3 separate regions of the Homo sapiens genome follow, and all the other regions are linked to region 2. Evidence: promoter capture Hi-C in 16 types of primary human blood cells and fetal thymus (Javierre and others, 2016). All regions are on one chromosome and are shown on one strand. Each heading gives the region's core, a stretch centred on a gene start or on the middle of the fragment in contact. The rest is flanking DNA. Distances are from core to core; before and after follow the strand shown.

What was found. The method cuts DNA at HindIII sites, captures the fragments that hold promoters and counts their contacts. A CHiCAGO score of 5 or more calls a contact.
Region 1: a contact is called between a fragment that was not itself captured here and the fragment with the promoter of SEC24D in region 2, in 2 of 17 cell types (naive B cells and naive CD8 T cells). The highest score is 5.9, in naive B cells.
Region 3: a contact is called between a fragment that was not itself captured here and the fragment with the promoter of SEC24D in region 2, in 1 of 17 cell types (monocytes). The highest score is 6.9, in monocytes.

What each region holds. Positions count from the first base shown.
Region 1 is chr4:119,235,908-119,239,352 of GRCh38, forward strand. It overlaps USP53 (ubiquitin specific peptidase 53), which reads left to right. Exons shown (of 19, transcript NM_001371395.1): 5 at 3,311-3,445. Among named protein-coding and RNA genes, the nearest start is that of USP53, 25 kb to the left of the region's middle. The HindIII fragment of the contact is 633 bases long and covers 1,683-2,315 here.
Region 2 is chr4:118,834,435-118,837,627 of GRCh38, forward strand. It overlaps SEC24D (SEC24 homolog D, COPII component), which reads right to left and starts at 1,692. Exons shown (of 23, transcript NM_014822.4): 1 at 1,507-1,692. RefSeq lists enhancers at 1,048-1,939, 1,560-1,854 and a silencer at 1,366-1,855. The HindIII fragment of the contact is 6,235 bases long and covers 1-3,193 here.
Region 3 is chr4:119,099,509-119,103,002 of GRCh38, forward strand. It overlaps LOC102723967 (a long non-coding RNA gene), which reads left to right and starts at 624. Exons shown (of 3, transcript XR_001741422.1): 1 at 624-662; 2 at 832-985. The HindIII fragment of the contact is 1,871 bases long and covers 1,044-2,914 here.

The sequences.
Region 1 (3,445 bases), core at 749-3,248, 400 kb after region 2:
TTGCTTTTGTTACTACTTATCATGTAACCCTTCTGGTACACTCTACAATTTATTATTCCTTAAGGTATTGTCTGCCTTTCGTCATTATAATGTTAGTTTCAGTGACTGGTTCAATACATGGCTCAAAAAATGTTGAATGAAATAATTCATCAACGAAATTCAGTTGATTAGACAAAACTGTTAGTAATACAGGTATACCACTGAGGTATTGCAGGTTTGATTCCAGACCACTGCAATAAAGCAAGTTGCAGGAATTTTTTTGTTTCCCAGTGCATATAAAAGTTATGTATACACTATACCACAGTCTATTAAGTGTGCAAAATAGCATTATTTCTAAAAAGACAATGTATATATCTTATTTAAAAACTATTGTTAGAAAATGCTAATGATCATTTGAGCTTTCAGTAAGTTGTAATCTTTTTGGTGGTAGAGGGTCTCGCCTTGATGTTGATGGCTGCTGACTGAATCAGGGTGATGGTTGCTGAAGGTTGAGGTGGCTGTGGCTATTAAAATAAGGCAACAATGAAGTTTGCCACATTGACTCTTCCTTTCACCAAAGATTCCTCTGTAGCATGTGACACTGTTTGATAGCATATTCCCCACCACAGATCTTCTTTCAGAACTGGGGTGGAACCCTGGCACTGCAGTAATGGTTCTAAACCCTTTGTTGTCATTTCAACAATGTGCACAGCATCTTCACCAGAAGTTGATTTCATCTCAAGAAACCACTTTCTTTGCTCAGCCGTAAGAAGCAATTCCCCTGTTCAAGTTTTATCATGAGATTGCAGCAATTCAGTCACATCTTCACACTCCACTTATAATTTTAGTTCTCTTGCTGTTTACATCCAGTTACTTTCTCCACTGAAGTCTTGAGCCCCTCAGAGTCATTCATAAGTGTTGGAATCATTAACCAAATATCCTGGTAATGTTGATATTTTGCCCTCCTCTTGTGAATCCTGATTGTTCTTTATGGCATCTAGAATGGTGAATCCTTTTCAGAAGGTTTTCAGTTTACTTTGCCCAGTTCCATCAGAGGAATCTCTTTCTGTGGCAGCTGTGGCCTTATGAAATGTGTTTCTTAAATAATGGGACTTTAAAGTCAAAATTACTCCTTGATTCATGAGCTGCAGAATGGTTATTGCAGGGATGAAAGCAACATTAATCTCTTTGTACATCACCATCAGAAATCTTGGGTAACCAGGGGCATTGTCAATAAACAGTAATATTTTGAAAGGAATATTTTCTGAGCAGTAGGTCTTCAACTGTGAGCTTAAAATATTCAGTAAACCATGCTGTAAACAGATGTGCTGTCATCCAGGCTTTGTTGTTCCATTTGTAGAATACAGTCAGTCTAGATTTATCATGATTTTTAAGGCCCTAGAATTTTCAGAATGGTAAGTGAGCATTGGCTTCAACTTGAAGTCAACAACTGCATTATGTCCTAATAAGAGAGTCAGCCTGTGGCCAGAAAGGTGGCCGCCCCCTCGCCCGTCACGCAATGCATGTTCGTGGGGAACCTGGTGCTAAACTATTCATAGATGACCTGCTTCTGGGTCGGGGTTTTGTATGTAGCAGAGCGGCTCCCTCGCTGCTATCTATTGAAAGTCAGCCCTCGACACAAGTGTTTGAAAAAATTAAAAAATAATTAAAAAAAAAAAAGACAGAATCAGCCTGTCCTTTGAAGCTTTGAAGCCAGGCATTGACTTCTTTCTGACTGTGAATGTCCTAGATGGCATCTTCTTCCATCTGTCAATATCACTGTCAGTCTTCAACTGTTTCTTCCACAGATGACAGTCTTCATCTGTCAAACAGTTGATGACTGTTTCTTCAACACTGAAAATCTGTTAATTAGTGTAGCCACTTTCATTAGTTATCTTAGCTAGATTTCTGGATAATTTGCTGTAGCTTCTCCATCAGCATTTGCTGACTCACCTTGTATTTTTATGTTATGGAGATGGCATCTTTCCTTAAACCTCCTGAATCAACCTCTGCTAGCTTCCTACTTTTCTTTAGCTTCCTCACCCTCTTTTTCTCAGCTTTCGTAGAATTAAAGAGCGTTAGGGCCTTGCTCTGGATTGGGCTTTGGCTTAAAGGAATGTTGTAACTGGTTGGATCTTCTATCCAGACCACTCAAATTTTCTCACTATCAGCAATAAGGGAGTTTCACTTTCTTATCATTCAGGTGTTTATTTGAGTAACACTTTTAATTTCCTTCAAGAGCTTTCCCTTTGCATTCACAACTTGGGTTACTTACTGCTTGATGTAGGAAGCCTACCTTTCTGCCTGTCTCAACTTTCAACATGCCTTCCTCACCAAGCTTAGTCATTTCCAGCTTTTGACTGAAAATGAGAGACATGCGACTCCTTTTACTTGAACACCTAGGGGCCATTGTAGGGTTATGAACTGACGTCATTTCAGTACTGCTGCATCTCAGGGAGTAGGGAGGCCTGAGGAAAAGAGAGAGTTGGGGAAACAGATGGTCAGTGGAGCAGTCAGAATACACACATTCATGGATTATGCTTGCTATCGTATATGGGAGTGGTTCATATTGCCTGAAAACAATTACAATGGAAACATCAAAGATAACTTATCACAGATCAGCATAACAGATACAGTAATAATGAAAAAGAATTACTGAAGTGTGACATAGACATGAAGTGGGCATATGCTGTTGGGAAAATGGTGCTGGTAGATTGGCTTGCTACAGGGTTGACACACACCTTCAGTTTGTTAAAAAGGCAGTATATCTGCAAAGAGCGATAAAGTAAAATGCTATAAAACAAAGTATTCTTGCATTTGTTTGTTTTTAATTCATAGGTTTAACATTTAAAGTCCTTTTAATCAGGAGTGTGCGTTTGTTGATACCATGGAAATTTAATTCACCAAGATTTATTTATGACTTAAAGGTTTCTTTTGAATAATTATACATATCCATTTACATAAAATCTGTCTTTTTTTGGAAAAATATGATTCTATGTAAGAAGGATAACAATATATTCTAGAGCAATTTAGTGTTGACAGATACAGCATACCAGCTGAAATATAATTTATTCTAGATTTTTGGATAATATTTTCCTTAGGAAACCATCTTTTGAACATTGAGCTTAAGGTAGGTAGGGATTGATGTCACATTGATATTTTAAAAATGTAAATGATGAAATTTTTAAAAATTTATATTAGAATGCTATCAGTTCTAATCCTTTTTATGACGAGTTTTAATTCTATATTCAATATTTGTGTTCAAATGGTAAAGTTAAGAATTTTCTTATTTGCATTTGCTTTTATTTAAACTTTTTTTTCTTTTTTGTAGATTTGCTTTGAGGTCACATTGATATGAAATATGGAGTCACCTTTTATAACTTCACCTGGGAAAGAGAGAGAAAACTTTCTTGTTAAAAAAACATAAGGAAAACAAACAACCAAAGGAATCATGCCAAATGCCAAC
Region 2 (3,193 bases), core at 442-2,941:
TTGTAAGTGTGTAGGCACACACATCACAAATATAACAGACTCATCTTGATTTTTTTTAAATCTTGATTCTAATCAGAACCCAAATTTGCTTTAAATTTTCTATTTTTTCCAGGTTTTAACAAAATAAGAGATATTTCATAGGACTGATGATTTAAAAAAAAAAATTAAATACGACAGAAAATGCTTTGAATGCAAGAGAAGTGGGTTTCCATTCTATGTCTGCCATACTTAACTGTGTGACATGGAATGAGCTGAAGAACCTCTCTAAGCCTCAGTTCCTTCTTTTAGAAAATGAAGCCTTTCCAGATTTCCACTGATTCTACAATTTATCTCCAGTTTATTTGCCCCATACAAGCATATTCTTCCTTTTGTTCTTTTATTTGCTACAATTTAAGATAAGAGATCAGTGATACCTGCTAAGACTTAGAATCTGTCTATATTCAAGAAATAACATTTCAAATTAAAAATTTGAAGCCTAAAATTTGTGATTTGATTTTGTTTCCATATTAAACTATAAGTTTCCAAAATAAAAGCAACCATGTAAAAATATTATGAGATCATTTCCTTCTCCTGGGAAGGGGAGAACTGAAAAAGAGGAGAGAGGCAGGCAAAGGCCTTCTGGTCCACTTTGTTTCTGACAACCCCTTTTTCCTCCTCCCACTTAGCAGAGAGAGACGTGGCAGCCTGAGCGCTGGTCAAGCTCATCCAACCAAGAGCACTTAGGAAGTCGGCACGAACACACCTAAGTAGCAGCCTGTTGCTGAGTGACAGAAAAGAGAGGCTGAGATGGTCACTCCAAAGAACAGGAAGCAGCCAGTTCCCTCTGAACTGGTCCTCAGAGGAATCAGCTTCCTCACGCAACCCAGTTTGCCACGTCAAACTTCCTCACACAGAGCACCAAGTTAAAGAAACCTGACTCAGCTTCAAGCGGCGACACGGCAGAAAGCCACTTGGTATAAGCAGGCCTAGGATCAAAATCTGGGGAGCCCCAACCCCAGAACGGCCCCCTGGCTCACTGTCACCCAGCAACTCTAGCCAAGGTGCACTTCTAACCCTGGAACAAGTTCGTATTTGGCCAGATCAGTTTCACTATTCGGATGTCCCGAGGCTTCAAGATATAGTTGCCATTTTTACCATGAATATTTCTAACATTTCCTTCCTTCAAAAAAGGAAATTAAGTTGATAAGGAGATGAGAAAACCGCTGGCAATGACACTCGAATGGTGGCCACTGAGGATCCTAACAAGGCAGTTCCTGCATCCCAAGGCAAAAGGTGGGGGCGGGTAAAAAATGCCCACGCCCACCTCCTGCTCCCCCATCCCGCCGGCCCCACTATTAAACTGCACTAGAAGGCTAAAGAACAAAGAATGAGTTCTCCTCCCGCCGCCACTGCCTCAGGTGAGCACCCGGCCTCCCGCCGCGTCCCCGGGCCGGGCGCCGCAACCCGCTCCGCTGTGCCTGGGCAGGGCTGTCCCGCATGAAGGCGTCCGCGGGTGGGAGGCTTTACCTGTTCCCGCTCCCGCACCCCGCGGGCTTCCGAGCGCTGGCGGCTCTGCGCCTAGTGCCGGCAGCCCTCGGTGGCCGGGCTCCCGCTGCGGTCGCTTCTCCCGCCGCGCCTCTTCCCCGGCCGGCGTCCCCTTAGCCTGGACTCACGCTCGGAGTTGCAGCTGGGCTGGGAACTGCCACGTCAAACCCTTTCTCGGCTGCGCGCCCCCAGCGCCGGGCTTGGACCAGCCGCCGCGCTCCCGCCTGCGCACGCGCACAGCCACCGGCCGCCGCGGGGCGGGGCCACCGGGCTGAGCCTGCGAGCGGCCGAGCGACCTCCCCCTTTTCGCTTTTTCCCTTTTTCCGGTTTTTTGTTTTTTGGTTTTCTTTTTCCCGTCTTTTCTTTCCCCTCCCCCTACAGGTCAAAGCCTTTAACGTCGTGGCTAAATCAGAACCGTATTTTCTCGGCGCAGCCCCGCAGGAAGGAGGGGAGCGCGTTCATTCATTCTTCCATCAACAGGTTGCAGTTTCAGCTCTTCATTCATTACGTATTACTTAAATAACTAATAGTTCAGGTACTGCACTACCGTTACATACGGGAAAGTACACGATCTGGACCTAGGGGAGATTACCGTTTAAAGGCGAATCTGGCACGTGTACACGCACATTTGATGACGTACCCGTGCAATGCACTACAGAGGAAGGAACGCCCAAAGCAGCCTGGCAACGTGTAACGCGGGAGGAGTGGGGGGTGGGGGAGATGTCCCAAAGGAAAAGTGTGGGAAGTGGGGTTTCCATTGATATTGGGGTTGTTAGCGTTGTGTATACTCCTTCTTCCGCATATTCCTTGTTTGTGAAGTAGGATGGCTGATCCCAGCCCCAAACAGGAATCTCTGCATGGAAAAGCACCCAGCGTTTAGCTCACCGTCCTGTGAGAAACAGCTCAGAAATAAAGGCAACCTATATGAGATCTGGAGCTTACCTCTCTATCTCACCCTAAAATCAGGACCATCTGGCTGGTTTCCTATCATCTTTCACTGCTAAATAGAAAGACATTCAGCCACTCCCAGGTTTGGTATAGCTACCACTTTGCTCAAACTTACAAAGTAAAAACCAGCCCGGTGTTGTTGTTTTTAACATGCACTTTCTTCCCGGCTACAAGAAAGCCACTTGACAAATACCTTTACTGATGAACTGCCTAGGTAAAAACGTACATGGGGATGTTGCTACTCCCGAAATGCTACATGAATTGTGCAGGAATTTTAAGTCATTTTAGCAGTAAAGATATATGGTCCATTTATCCCACTCTTAAAAGTTTTTAAGGCATGGGGCAAGGCACAGTGGCTCACACCTGTTATCCCAGCACTTTGGGAGGCCAAGCAGGGAGGATTGCTTGAGGCCAGGAGGCAGTGAGCTATGATCACACCACTGCGTTCCAGCGTGGGCAACAGAGTGAGACCCTGTCTCAAGAAAAAGAAAAAAAGATTTTAAGGTAAGATATCTGGCCTACATCCAGCTTCAACACTGATCAGGTTTGAAAACCCACATTGAAATTTTTGTTTTAAATTGTTTCTTGTATTCTCAATGTGATGAAAATGTTCAGTGGAAGTTTAGGAAGTTTTGGCCGGTGTTGAAGCAGTACAGCTTGTAAAAGCAGTGAAAGAACTTGTCATATAACAGCTACATTACAAGGAGCGAGTGAAGCTATG
Region 3 (3,494 bases), core at 729-3,228, 270 kb after region 2:
CCTATTTTAAAAACAGAATCCAAGATTCCAATAGATAACCCAGGCTCTCTCTTGCCAGTACATTCCAGTCTCCACAGGTTCACAGAATTTTTAGTCACCTGGGAATAATCAGATCCAGATGAGATTTTTATTTATTTTCTTTTGTTTTAAGTAAGGACACTGAAAGTTCACTTATCTAGTATAGGGTTTTGTTTCACATCTGCAAGAGATCAAAGTTAGTATGGGAAGTATCTCCGGCATGGGTAAGTTGTGAAATCAAAAGAACTGCATGTGCCAGTTGAGTTTAGTTTTTGGATAAAGTCTCATGAGCAAAAACTGAAGACAGGGTAAACATATTATATATCAATAATAAAAAATGCCCATCAACACAACATAAAAGGGGATTACTCTATAGAAATCAAACTTCATGTGGTAAAAGAAATGTTAAAATTATTAGCAAAAATTGCCAAGAGTACCTATTAAAAGAAATATCATTTCTCTCTTGACAGTCTTCTCTCCAAAATGAACTCAACAATGCAGACACTAGCAAAGAAAAAATGAACACTTCTTTAAAAATCATGCTTTAAGTTCTGGGATACATGTGCAGAACGTGCAGGTCTGTTACACAGGTATACACGCGCCATGGTGGTTTGCTGCACCCATCAACCCATCATCTACATTAGGTATTTCTCCTAATGCTATCCCTCCCCTAGCCCCCTCCCCCGACAGGCCCCTGTGTGTGATGTTCCCCTCCCTATGTCCATGTGTTCCCATTGATGAACACATTTTTAATACTATTGCCAAAGGAAAAATTTCTCTAACTTAAGCTTCGTATTTCCAAAATTTGTTTAGCAATTTTTAGGACTTTTCCTCCTGTTGGAAATTTGATGAGCATGAAGAAAAAGCTTAATGGAAGAAACAAATCCGAGGAGAGAGTTTATGGAAAATGGAGAAAGGACAATGAGAACCGACAAAGATTGAATAAGAGAGAGTAAAGAACAAGATGGTGACGTAGACTACTTATTCATTCTTTCTTTTTTCCTTTCTGCCGCAAGTATTTGTTAAGCTTTGCTAAGTGCCAGGTATTCTTCTAGGCACTGGAGATATAGCAGGGAACAAAACAAAGCACTTTCCTTTGTAAGATTTATATTTTAGTGTAGGGGCTGGCCAACTTTTTCTATAACAAGCCAAATAGTAAGTATTTTAGGCTTTGAGGGCCATGCAGTCCCCATTAGGACGTCTGAACTCTGCCATTGTAATGCAAAAGTTGTCACAGAAAGACAAACATGTGGCCATGACTGTGTTCCAATAAAACTTTATTTACTGAAACACATGACAGGCCAATTTGTCCTGTAAGCCATAGTTTGTGGAGTGCAAAGGAAAGAAGGAAGTCCAGGATGACTTCAAAGATTCTTGCTTAAGCAACTTAGTGACCATGACAATAAACAGTTTCCATGGAGCAGTACAGAGAAACTGAAGAAAGCAAGTGTAGACAAATTTTTATGTTAAAAGGGAGCAAAGAAAAGGACCACAGAAGGTGTTTTATTGTGCTTGTCTCTATTTGCAAGGTATTTTGCTTTTGTTTGATGTGAGAAAAAAAGCATAGCATGTTTCTATGATGATGGAAAAACTCCAGTAGAAAACAGGGCTGGGTGCAGTGGTTCATGCCTGTAATCCTAACACTTTGGGAGGACGAGGCAGGCGGATCACCTGAGGTCAGGAGTTCAAGACCAGCCTGGCTAACATGGTGAAATCCCTGTCTCTACTACTAAAAATACACAAATTAGCCCGGCATGGTGGTGGGCGCCTGTAGTCTCAGCTACTCGGGGGTTTGAGACAGGAGAATCACTTACCCAGTAGGCGGAGGTTGCAGCCAGGGCTACACAGCGAGACTCCATCAGGAAGAAAGAAAGAAAAGAAAGAAAGAAAGAGAGAGAGAGGAAAGAAAGAAAGAAAGAAAGAAAGAAAGAAAGAAAGAAAGAGAAAGAAAGAAAAGAAAAGAAAGAAAAAAAAGAAGGAAGGAAGGAAGAAAGGAAGGAAAAAACAACAGCAATGGAGAAAAAGAGAGGATAACTGCAGGAAGAAAGTCCATGGACCTAGAGCAGTGGCTCACACCTATAATCCTGGCGCTTTGGAAGGCCTAGGTGGCCAGACTTCTTGAACCCAGGAGTTTGAGACCAGCCTGGGCAACATAGGGAGACTCTGTCTCTACAAAAAATACAAAAATTAGCCAGGCATGGTGGCACATGCCTGTAGTCCCAGCTACTTAGGAGGCTGAGGTGGGAGGATCACTTGAGCCCAGGAGATAGTGGCTGCAGTGAGCCGTAATTGTGCCATTTCATTCCTGCCTGGGTGACAGAGTGAGACCCTGTCTCAAAAAAAAGAAAAAAAAATGGACAATTCACCTCTTGTAATAGGAAAGAGGGCAAAACATAAAGTTACAGATGCAAGTAAGTTGTCATGTATGGTTGGGGGAATGTGGATTGCTGACGGGAAGTGATGATGAGACAGAATTAAACTGACTACAGTTACCCTCTTGGTCTTTTTCTGTTTTCTACTCTCTGAAGACAATAAATATAATAACTATCATGGGCAGATAAGAACACCACAGCAGAAAATGATTTTTAGAGGAGGTGAGAGATGTCATTGGAGTGGGGGTGGGAGTACATTCCAAGAGTGACTAGTAGAGGGAGCAACCACTTTGACGAATATCATATGACCTGAGCATAAGAACGAAAATCACATTGCTGGACTGAGGGCCTGTATTCTGATGTGCAATGACTGTCATTATGTAAGGAAAGTAGGAAGTGATCAGAAGAATTTAGAAAATCTTATTAAAAGTTGAAATTATATTTAATAAGCAATATTGCTGATCCATGGGGCCCCTGTAAGGTTCTGTGAAGGGGAAGCGAAAGAAGATACTTAAGAAAGATAAAGCTTCCTATTAGTATTGGCTGTATTAAAAGACACCAACAAAGTGGTCTGTTGTTCCAGTCCAACTGGGGTCATCGCTGGCTTGTCTCAAGAAAGATATCAAAGTATAAGTCAACAAGGCTAATTTTATGTAATCACAGCTCACAGAAAAAAATTGTGATGGAAACAACTACTATACAGAAATTATATGGTAGATAGAATTAGGAATAGACAGAGAAAAACAAAGTTGACAAAAGAATCATCAATGTATAATGTAGAATTAATTTCAAAGCTCTAAAGCCCTGCAAATAAAAACATGTTTCATGAGAAATGAACTCTAGAAATCATTCATGTCCAGACAACAGTGATACCTGTGTGAGTCAGAACTAACCGTGCCTATCCTGAAATACTACATTATACCAAGTGAATGGGTAATGGTTGTAAGCTATGTTTCAAAACAAGAGGGCAGTGGGGCACATTGTCCCCATTCCTTATACCCACACCTCAACTCATGACTACCTGAAGTTCAAAGACTTCGTCCTTCAGGAACAATAAACTTTGTTTGTTTTTTGAGATGGAGTCTGGCTCTGCCACCCAGGCTG